Regions from separate parts of the Homo sapiens genome. Here all the other regions are linked to region 1. Evidence: promoter capture Hi-C in 16 types of primary human blood cells and fetal thymus (Javierre and others, 2016). All regions are on one chromosome and are shown on one strand. The core of a region is centred on a gene start or on the middle of the fragment in contact, and the rest is flanking DNA. Distances in the headings are between cores, read along the strand shown. Region 1 holds the start of TTL (tubulin tyrosine ligase). Region 2 overlaps MERTK (MER proto-oncogene, tyrosine kinase). Region 3 overlaps MERTK (MER proto-oncogene, tyrosine kinase).

Region 1 (3,711 bases), core at 652-3,151:
TCCACCTAAGCTTTCACAGCTAGGCACTGCCAAGAATATAGAGGGAAGTCAGGAAGTCTGGAAGGGGAAGTGGACAATGCAAGGAACAAATAATTGTTCTCAACTATAAGCAATTCTTCCTCTCCTTTCAGATCATGAATTCTCTTTGCTAGGGTCTTCCTGACACCGGTTAACCAAAGGGAGCCTCCAGGCACAGTCTCCATATTCTAAGATTTCTGGGTGTTCAAATGGGTCCTTCCATGGAGTCACCATTCTACATCATAAACTTGTATACCAATGAAAAGTTGTCCCAGGTACTATTCAAAAGAAGAAAATCCAGCAACTTTACACTGCAGCTCTTCATTCCTCCAACGATTTGAGTTTTACACAGCCCCCTCCCAAAGGCTCTGTCTATGGAAGCTCATAAATGACCAGTCAATTCCAAATGGCCCGTATTCAGTTTTTACCCATTTGAATTCTGACCACACCTATTTCTAAAAACTGTTTTCTCTCCTGGACATAGAACATTGCTCTCTCTGGGTTGCCCTCCAAGGTAGAGGTGACTCTTCCTCCGTATCGATTCTCCCCTTGTCTTTGGAATACAATTGGCCCCCACCTCTGGTGAATTCTGGCAAGGAACATGGCTCCCCGGAGAGAAGATGCAATTCCCAGATGACTGTGCAGAGAGGGAGGCCATGAGACTATGCTCAGGTCAATAGGATGTGAGTTGAACCGATCTGGGCAACTTCTGGATGACATCACTTACAAAGGAGCCGCTAGTCCCCTCCTATCTCCTGCGCTTTCCTACCCGTGGACATGTGGGTATGGTGGTGCCCAGCCAGCTTCAACCATGTGGATGAAGGTAATTCCCTCGGGGAGAGCAGGGAAGACAGGGAGGGCGAACGCAGCCTCGTGTAAGATCTTAATCCAATGCAGAACTGCGAAAACACATTATTTGGTGAAACTAAGGAAAGGTTTATAATCAGACATCCCTCCACACTTCCCTGGGCTAGGGTCTCTTCTGCAGCTCCTGCTTTTGGAATCCGGGGGTCTTTTCCAAATCCTCTGATCGCTCCTCCGCGCCTTCGGGGGGCAGAAGCCTCAGGGGTTTCAACACCTACGGCTCCCCCGCCCGCGCCCACGCCAAGCAGGGAGAAATCCTCAGTGCAGACGAGCTGCAAAAGATGACTCCAGCCGCCCGCTCTGCGGAGCCGCGCCCAGCGCGGCGGACCCGCCAAATCTGGGGGCTTCGGCCCGGGGGAGCCGCTAGACTCGCGCCTCAGGTCCCAGCCCCGGCGGCCAGCGTCTCCCGGGCTGCAGGGACCGGTCACCGTCGGGAGGTAGCTGCGGCCCCGAGTGGCCGCACCGCGACTCCGACTCTAAATCCAAGTTAGGAGACAAGAAAGCATTAAAAACGACAGGTTTCGATCTTTCCGAATCCGTTTCTGATGTGCCCGACAAGCGACAGAGGAGAAAATGTATGACCTTTAAAAACAAAAGCGCCGGTTCTAACGGGCCGCGGGAGGCGCGCAGGGCCGCTCCGAGGAGGGCAGACGGGAATCGGGGAGGGGCTCACCCAGTCTCCCGAAGGGCAGCCGATTCCTCTCTCCCAGCATCAGGTTGAATCTGGGGTTGTCTCGCCGCAGCCTCTTCCAGTGGCCGGTGGCGAGGAGCAGCCGGGAGACCTCGGCGTAGACGCTGCTGTTCTCATCGCGTACCACGAAGGTGTACATGGCGAAGCGCCGCGCGCCCGGGCCGCCGGGCAGCCGCCGCAGGGACCAGGCGGCCGAGAAGGCGGCTCAGCGCGGACCCCGCCCGGGCGCCCGCCGCGGCCCGGCCCCCGCCGCCCGCGCCGGCTACCGCGCCTCTCGGGTGCCGGCGGCGCCGCGCCCGGGCGCCCGCCGGGTGCCGGAGAGGAAAGCGCCGCTCGCACGCCCGCCCCCGCCGGCGCGGCCCCGCCTCTGTCCCGTGATTCCGCGCGGCCCGGCCCCGCCGCGCTCTGGAGGAGCCCGTGGGCGGCGGCGCCGCGCCCTTTCCGTACCCTCCCCCGGGGGCGGCGGCGGCGCAGGGTTGGAGACCCGCGGCGGTGGGCGCGGCTTTACCGCAGCGGGCGGACTGTGCGGTGGAACCGGAGCCCGGGCCTGGGGTGGTTCTTTCCGAGCCCCGGGTCGCAGCCGGGGGGCGGTGCCGGCGGAAGATCCCAGTTTGCAGGGCTCGATCTGGGTTTTTCTTCTATTGCCAAAGGACCTTTAATGGATAAAACCCAAAAGTTCTAAGGCCCGGTCCTGTGGCCTAATGAAGAAGCGCTTCCTCTTCCTCTTTGCTTAACGACTACGGAGACCCGGAGCGTCGGTTTTGTTTGTGTCGAGTGCTCCTTCCTTCGGCTGAGCCCAGGGTGGCGCACGGCCAAGGGGATGACCTTAGACTCTGCTGGTGGAAGCAGGTCCCAAACCGACCCCCTGGAGCCCTGGGCTCCGCTCTTTTCCTGCCTTTTACCGGCATTCAGCCACTTGCTTTCCCTTCTCCGGACCTCGATTTCCCCTTATGAGCGGCGGAGAGTGGCTCTTAAAAGTCCCTTCGGTTCTGATAGCCCACTCTGAAGACTGTGCTGCTGCATTTGAGATACAAAGAGAAGGCAATGATCATCAGAGCTCCCCCAAACTTCCTACAGTCCCTCATAAATTACCCACATCAGCCCTGCGCCTTGCATCTTTTACTCTCCTGTAGATAAAGAACACCCTGGGGCCTCTCCCCTTCCTGTCCCCCGATGCTCACGGTATCTACCCGAGCACATTGTAAAAGCGCCCTTCTCCTTCCCATCGTTGCCCAGATTCCACGGGGCCGCCAGGCGCTCACTCGCCTGTCTTGCGCACCGGCTCCACCTGCAGGCAACCGCTGGCTGTGGAGAGCCCGCTCAGAGCAGAAATGGGGCAGACTTAGAGGTGCTGGGTGCTTGCACTCCTTCCCAGCTGCTCTCCCTCCACGAGGGATAGAGTTGGTCGAGAATGCCCTGGCCCTCTCGCCCTCCGCACGTGCCCTGCGGGGAGGCGTGTGTCCTAGGCGTATTGCGGTGGTCCTCTGTAGGCCACGGCTGCGGTTGTCCACAGCTGCAACTTGCTCATCAGGGCATCTTCTGTTGGCTTCCTTCCTTTCCCTGACTACCGATGTTTCCTGGGATCACCTCCCAAAAAAACTACTGTACTCGTGCTCAAATTCTTGTTCCAGGGGGCACCGTTTGGGGGAACTCGAGCCAAGACGCTGTGTTTGCCGCTCTTCACGGCTGATCACCTTGAAAGTGACGTCCACTCCCACCATGCTGCATCAATTCCTCCTGCGACTCCTACTGACGACTCCTGTGCCACAGGTGGCTTCTCTCTGCCACTCCACAACCGTGGATCTCATTAGGAACACCAGTGACCTTTGAATTTCCAAATCCAGAAGCTACCTTTTTCCTTTTTCTCACTTTTTGTAGCGAGCACCATTTTTGTTTCTTTTAGCTGTAGGTTCTGTACGGTACTACTTATTCCCCACCCCACTTTTTTTTGAGACAGGGTCTCACCATATTGCCCAGGCTGGTCTCGAACTCCTCAACTCAAGCCATCCTCCCACCTCAGCCTCCCAAACTGTTGGGATTACAGGCGTGAGCCACCACACCCAGCTTATTCCCTTTTCTTTGTAAGGTAACTCATCTTTCCTCCTTGGAACGTGTGTGTGTGTGTGTGTGTGTGTGTG
Region 2 (3,711 bases), core at 390-2,889, 580 kb after region 1:
AGACATAATCACCCTTTCTTCTTTATCACTCTGAAACACCAGGACCTGAGGAGGTGACCTGGCCATAGCAGCCCAGGGTTTCACATGCCGGCCATGTCCCTAGATCCTAGTGCCTGTCAGAGGCCCCGAGAGTGAAAATGTGGCAGCTCCCATGAAGGGATGGCTGTCCAGCTGCAGAGTCTCACAAAACTAGGGAAGATCTAGGCCCTCCCTTCCTGTGGCTAAGAATCACCCAGTTCAACAGCCATGGTTCAGACAGAGAAAAGTAAGGCCTAGGAGGGAGGAAGTGCCAGGATGGCAGGTATTCTTAGTATCCTTGTTCTCCAAAAGGGGCCTGCTGATCCTAATGGAATTCTCTGCCCCTGCCAGGCTGCATTTTTAGCACTTCGGCTGGAGGCAGGAGTGGGAGACATAGAATGAAAAGAGAGGGAACTGGTTTAACTCCGGTCACGGGTTAGCCAATGCCCAGAGTGCCAGAGGGAGAGTAATCAGGGCTCCCTCCCGGGCACCTGAGGGTTGGCTCACCCATGCCATTAAGCAGGAAGTACCAGAAGCCAGGAGTGCACCTGGCGCCCTTTGCATTTCCTACAAGACCACCTGCGGACACATACTCACGCCTGTACACGGAATCTACTCTAAGAACCAAAGCCTCATTTTCTCTATGTTGCAGCCAACTGACCTCATTGGGAAAACCTAGCTCGATGTGGTAAAAAGGAAAAGAATTTTCTGAGCTGGGTGAGGTGGTTCACTCCTGTAATCCCAGCACTTTGAGAGGCCGAGGTGGGTGGATCGCGAGGTCAGGAGTTCAAGACCAGCCTGCCCAACACGGTGAAACCCCGTCTCTACTTAAAATACAAAAATTAGCCAGGTCTGGTGGAGGGCACCTGTAATCCCAGCTACTTGGGAGGCTGAGGCAGAGAATTGCTTGAAGCCAGGAGGCGGAGGTTGCAGTGAGCCGAGATCGCGCCACATGCACTCCAGCCTGGGCGACAGAGCAAGATTCCATCTCAAAAAAAAAAAAAAGAATTTTCTGGATGTTCACACTCAAAAACCCTAAAACAAAACAAACACAAAAAATAAAAATAAAAAAATTTAAACCACACCCAGTTTGGAAAAGAGTTATGTGGGAAAAGTTGAACAGGAACTGGACTTCATTTTTATACCTTCCTGAGAGGCACATGACAAGAAGCTATTCCTGTACTATGTCAAGTTTGAACTCCATAAGGGAAGGTATGGGGGCAGGAGTAGGAGGGGAATGGCAGTCAGGGCGGGCCCTGCTTCTCTGGAGAACTGCTTGGTCCTGGGTGGGTTTTGCTCAAACTACTAGGAAACAAAAACCTAAAGAGCTGCAGCAAAGGACTTGGGCACTCTAGGGCGACACCGGAGGGCCCCTTCACCAAAGCATTCTGAACAATGGAGGGTGGACCATTCAGGATACACTTCAATAAGAAAAGAACCCTCCTCCCAACACCTTTTGTCTAGGAAAAACATTTCCCCCATACTTGAGTTCAGAAGAATGGAGGAGAACCATTGGTAATAATGGCAAATATATTTTAAGCACATATCACCTGCCATTAGCTCATTACGTCCTCCTAACAATTCTATGAAAAGAGCCTCCCACTGTACCCAAAAAGGAACAGAGGTCCTGAAAGTTAATCACCACCCCCAAAGCCCCAGAAGCCAGTCCCGGTTAACACTTTCATTCCAGTCCCCAGAGGCATAGTGTGCCTCACACAGTGTGAGACCCCTTTCAGTTTTTATAATAATTAATCTCCTGCTGAGAAACATACCAATTCAGAGCCATGTGCTTTGGGTTAAGATTAAACTAACGGCAAGGGCCAAAGTCAAGGCACCCAGGGCTACCTGCCCCTGAGCAAGGAGTTGTTAGAACTGTGTTTAACATGAAAAATTACCTTCTGACATTTTTTTTTCTAGTTGGAATAGTTAGGACAATGTAAAATATGTTTGGGGTTAATACAGCCCAAAAATCTGTCTGGTTTTAATTGACTAGCTCCTCCAGCAATGAAATCACATTGGCATCACAGCAAAATAAAAGATTGTTTTCTATTAACCAAGCCCCGAATGTGAGGGCATGGGAGCTCCAGCAATTCTGTTTCTGGAAAAGCCAGTAGGAAAAGATAAGGGTGAAGAGCACCTGGTAAGACATGCAGGGGCTTGGTTCCTTCATGCTGTGCTCTGATACTCACTGAGCACCCGTATGAGCTCCATGCTGTGTTAGCAGTGAAAAAGACAGCAGCCCTGCCACCAGGAGCTTACCTTGTGGTGGGGGGACAGTGGAGGAAAAGGAGTAAACAAAGAGGTAAGGCTGGGTGCCATAGCTCACGCCTGTAATCTCTGCACTTTGGGAGGCTGAGGTAGGCGGATCACCTGAGGTCAGGAGTTCGAGACCAGCCTGGCCAACATGGTGAAACCCTGTCTCTACTAAAAATACAAAAATTAGCCAGCTGTGGTGGCAGGTGCCTGTAATCCCAGCTACTGGGAAGGCTGAGGCAGGAGAATTGCTTGAACCTGGGAGGCGGAGGTTGCAGTGAGCAGAGAATTTGCCATTGCAAGACTCTGTCAATAAAGAAATAGAGGGAGGGAGGGAGGGAGGAAGGAAGGAAGGAAGGAAGGAACTGATCAGGTTGTGAGAAGCATTATCAGGAAATTAAATTTAAGGGATAGTGGGGTGTATGCATATGATACTTTGGCAGGGGGTGGTTATTGGGGAAGGCTTCTCAAGGAGAACCTCTGAACTGAAACCCAAAGGATGAGAAGAAGCCAGCATGCCGAGATCTTGGGAAAAAGGTTCCAGCCAGAGGGAAGAGTCACTGCAAAGGCTGCTCAGGCCCTAGAAAGAAGACACAGGTGGCTGGAGTGGTAGGAACAAGAGGGAAGTGAATGGAAATGGGTCAAAGAGGTTCGCTGTGAGTCTCTGCAAATTCTAGTAGGGAACAGGAAGCCACTGGAAGATTTTCAAATGGAAAATACAATCAGATTCGTTTCCAAAATCTCATTCTGGCTATTATATGGAAAGCGACTGTTTCACATGTGTGTTCAAGGTCCCAGCTCAGTTTTTCTACCCAGCAGCATGTTCCCAATTCACAGGCATAAAAAGATTGAACCTCTTCTTGACCAATGCTGACTAGTAACTCACTGGCCCTTCTACAATTATCTGGAAATTATTTCAAAAATTAAGATTTAAAAATATAATTATTGGCTGGGTGTGGTGGCTCATGCCTGTAATCCCAGCACTTTGGGAGGCCAAGGCAGGCAGATCACCTGAGGTTGGGAGTTCGAGACCAACCTAACCAACACGGAGAAACCCTGTCTCTACCAAAAATACAAAATTAGCCAGGCGTGGTGGTGCATGCCTGTAATCCCAGCTACTCAGGAGGCTGAGGCAGGAGAACTGCTTGAACCCGGGAGGCGGGAAGTTGCGGTGAGCCGAGATTGTGCCATTGCACTCTAGCCTGGACAGCAAGAGTGAAACTCTATCTCAAAAACAAAAAAACATAATTATTGTTAATTTTTTAAAAATTGTATTCAGCTGTGCATGGTGGCTCATGCCTATAATCCCCACACTCTGAGAGGCTAAGGTGGGAAGATCGCTTGAGCCCAGGAGTTCAAGACCAGCCTGGGCAACATAGTGAGATCCTGTCTCTACAAAAAATAAAAAATTAGCCAGGCATGGTGGTATGTGCCTGTGGT
Region 3 (3,711 bases), core at 785-3,284, 560 kb after region 1:
CAGTGGCTCAGACATTTAGGGACTTTGTGAATAGTCTCTTAGACTCAAAATTCGTTCATTAGGGCAAGCCAGTAAAGAATGTTATTTTCCATGTGATCAACTAGTGCATCCTACCCTCAAATCCATGAATCCTTGCTGAGCACTTGTCAAATGCAGTGTGCAAAGGCAGAAGGGCTGGTGGGCAGTGCTGCTCAGAGGTTAGCTAGCAGCTTTGCAGTCAGAGGGCTGAGGCCCACCCAGTCCCTCACCACCTCAAGGTATGGCCTCAGGAAAGCTCTATAACTTCTTTGAACTCTTGTGAGGACAAGAGGATCTCAGCAGTAGGAGCTGATAGGCATCGAGTCCACCAGCACACTCCAAAAATATTGGCTGACATGGCTGTTACTGGCTTGCATCTGAACCCTGGCCTGCTGGCCACCTAAAGTAGGAATTTCTAAAGCCAGGTCTGGGCCCTGCGGGGATAAGGGCTGAGTTTAATTAGTGATGTCTGCCTTGGACAATGCATGGGGAAGGGCAATACTAGAGTAATATAATTGCCAGCCATGAGTGAGAGGAAAAAATATACATCGGGCTTGGGATGCGAAGGGCTCTTAGCTCTAAGGCATCTCTCAATCTCTCCAGGGATGGTCTCCACCAGCCTTTCCTAACATGAGCTCCTTTGATTTTCTTGAAGCTTGGTGATCACAGCCCAAGGTGATCACCGAGGTGACTAAAGAAAGCAGCAGCAACTGAAATTGCAGGTCCCATGATAGTGGGTGGGGATGTGGCAGCAAGCAGCCTCCCTGGCCCTGGAGTCCCTCCATGCTGTGGGAAGAGGGTTGAGCAGGGCAGGTGGCAGCCCTGTGGGACTGAGGGTGCTGGCTGGTGAACCCTGTTCAGTTCCACCCCACCCCAGCTACCCCAGGATGCTGTGTGCCATCAGCCTGCTTTATGATCCCAGGCACCTGGGAAGAGAGAGGAATAGCTCCTCTACCAGAGTTACAGTAATGGCAGGAGTGAGTGCCAGCCTGTGGGACCCATTACTCCTGCTCTTTCTATTCCTTCCCCAACAATAAAATGGGCAGAAGCATCAGCTGAGCTCTCTAAAGTTCAGCCTCAAACTCAAGAGGCCCAGGCTAGGCGTGGTGGCTCCCAGCACTTTGGGAGGCCGAAGCGGGAGGATTGCTTGAGCCCAGGAGTTCAAGATCAGCCTGGGCAACAGAGTGAGACAAGTCTCTACCAAAAATAGAAATAAAAGAAAAACGAGGCCCAGAGGAGGCTGCAAAAGAGTGAGGGCTTATCTTTCAGTTCCTAGAGGTTCTTTGCTTCCCAACTCAAGCACACATGAACATATGGCACATAAATGCATGGCCAAGAGGATGCACCTTATTCCAGAGGTATGCTGTTTCCTCACCAGTCTTGCTGTCTGCTGAAGGTATTTGCTATCAAACAGCCCTACAGCCCTTCTGCAGGTGGGTTTGTGATTTAGAGAAAGGCTTTTTTTTTTTTTTTGAGATCGCGTCTTAGTCTGTCACAGCCCAGGCTGGAGTGCAGTGGTGTGATCTCAGCTCACTGCAAACCTCGCCTCCAGGGTTCAAGCAATTCTCCTGCCTCAGCCTCCTGAGTAGCAGGGACTACAGGCAGGTACCACCATGCCCAGCTAATTTTTGTATTTTTAGTAAAGACCGAGTTTCACCATGTTGGTCAGGCTGGTGTCGAACTCCTAACCTCAGGTGATCTGCCCGCCTTCACCTCCCAAAGTTCAGAGAAAGGCTTTTGCATCTGGAATCCTGTAAATGCTGGTATCCCTGTTTCCCTACCCTCTCTAGGAGAAAACGCAGAACCTAGACCAGTGCCCCCACCCCACATTCTGTGTGCACACACCAGGCTGATATTTGAATCATGTCCTGAGCAGCTGCCCTGTCACCCAGGTTAAGGACTCCCACCCCACTCCCTTTACCCCCACAGCTAGCTGAGGCCAAACATAGCACAAAAGGAAATTTTCTACTTAGTACTATTTATGCAATACCCAAAGGATTCCTGATTGATAAAGTGTAGTGGCCAGTCGCAGTGGCTCACGCCTGTAATCCCAGCACTTTGGGAGGCCGAGGCGGGCAGATCACCTGAGGTCAGGAGTTCAAGACCAGCCTGGCCAACATGGCAAAACCCTGTCTCTACTAAAAAATACAAAAAGTAGCCAGGCCTGGTGGCAGGCGCCTGTAATCCCAGCTACTCGGGAGGGTGAGGCAGGGAGAATTGCTTGAACCCGGGAGGCAGAAGTTGCAGTGAGCTGAGATCACGCCACTGCACTCCAGCGTAGGCAACACAGTGAGACTCTGTTTCGGAAAATAAATAAATAAATAAATAAAATAAAGAGTAGCAACACTTCATTAGAAGAAAAACAAACAAACAGAGTAGCAACACTTCATTAGAAGAAAAAGAAAAAAAAAAAACAACCTTCAATCAGAACTCACTTGACCTGATGGATCAGTCCTAAATTGCAAATGGTAATTATTAACTTCACTGGAGTGACCCTTGGGCCACTTGGAGAATGTTAAAGGAGGAAGAGGCGATCACGCCACCCATTTGCCCTAAGTGTAGCAAAGCCCTGCAAGAGAAAGCGGGTGGCTGGCTCTGAGTCAGTGCTGGAGAGAACAGGCCTGGCGCTTGCAGGAAGGAAAGGAAGTAAATGGCTGGGCAGTGTGTGCCCCAAGAGGTCACAGCCCAGCCACAGGAGGAGAAAAGCCCAAGTGCCAGTGAAAGCCCAGAAATGCCTGCACGGTGGAAGGAACGTGAAGTTGCCTGTAAAACACGGTGTTGGCATTGGGTTGCCAGATAAAAAACAGTACAGCCCTTTACACCTGAATTTCAGATAAGCAACCAATATGGGAACACCCCGGATTTACTTAGAGGAACAAATATAACTTAGTATCATTTAGTCAAAACCAGCTGGAGCCACAGCACTAGGGATTTCATTGTTGCCCTTCCCACAGGCTGCTTCTTGGGGCTTAGAGCAGCATGGAGAGTGGGTCTGGAGGGGCAAACAGGGACCTGGCACACCAGGAAAGCTATCCAACCTCTCTGAACCAAGGCTTGCAGCATGAAGGGGCTGAGACATCTGAGCAAAAGCACAAGGGGCTTGCTTATCAGTGGGGTGACCTTCCTACTGCCCCTGGCCCAATACATTCCTTTTGGCTCAAAAAAAAAAAAAAAAAGAAAAGAAAAAGAAAAAACATCAAAAAACAAAATGAGCAGAGGTACCTCTCTGCTTGGCCTTGAACACACATGTTAGCAGGGCAAGCCCCAAGGGCCCCAAAGGGCTTTAGGTACCCTCTCATCATCCCTTTCAGCCTGTCCCCCACTTTTTCACTGGGGCATTTGCCTTTTTCTTGGTGGTGCTTTGCAAAAGAAGCTTCCCAAACAGACTGCAATGTCCATGTCCCTACCATGGGGGGCACCAATGCAACCAGAAAAGAGCCTTCCAGAATCTGACCTCGACTTTTCACTATCTTCTTCCAACTCTCCCACTATGCTGTCAAACCCAGCGGAACATCAGAATCTTCCAGGAAATGTTTTTAAGCTTCTGATGCCCATGTCCCACCCAGGGCTTGAATTTATTGGCTCAGGGTGCAGCTTGGGCACTGGGATTTAAAAAAAAATCTCCTCTTATGATTCTAATGTGCAGCCAGGGTCAGACCCCTACTTTAGGGAATAGATTCAGTGGCACAGATC

What was found. Contacts are between HindIII fragments. The CHiCAGO score rates a contact against its expected background, and 5 or more counts as called.
Region 2: a fragment that was not itself captured here is called in contact with the fragment with the promoter of TTL in region 1 in 6 of 17 cell types (M0 macrophages, total B cells, M2 macrophages and 3 more); the score reaches 7.3 in M0 macrophages.
Region 3: a fragment that was not itself captured here is called in contact with the fragment with the promoter of TTL in region 1 in 1 of 17 cell types (M0 macrophages); the score reaches 5.7 in M0 macrophages.

The regions. Positions count from the first base shown.
Region 1 is chr2:112,480,346-112,484,056 of GRCh38, reverse strand. TTL (tubulin tyrosine ligase) reads right to left here and starts at 1,901. Exons shown (of 7, transcript NM_153712.5): 1 at 1,556-1,901. The coding sequence starts at 1,712. RefSeq lists silencers at 1,131-1,230, 1,791-2,180 and an enhancer at 2,501-2,570. The HindIII fragment of the contact is 5,056 bases long and covers 13-3,711 here.
Region 2 is chr2:111,901,692-111,905,402 of GRCh38, reverse strand. The region is part of intron 1 of MERTK (MER proto-oncogene, tyrosine kinase); the gene reads right to left. Among named protein-coding and RNA genes, the nearest start is that of MERTK, 4.9 kb to the right of the region's middle. The HindIII fragment of the contact is 5,986 bases long and covers 1-3,711 here.
Region 3 is chr2:111,919,283-111,922,993 of GRCh38, reverse strand. The region is part of intron 1 of MERTK (MER proto-oncogene, tyrosine kinase); the gene reads right to left. Among named protein-coding and RNA genes, the nearest start is that of MERTK, 23 kb to the right of the region's middle. The HindIII fragment of the contact is 2,718 bases long and covers 676-3,393 here.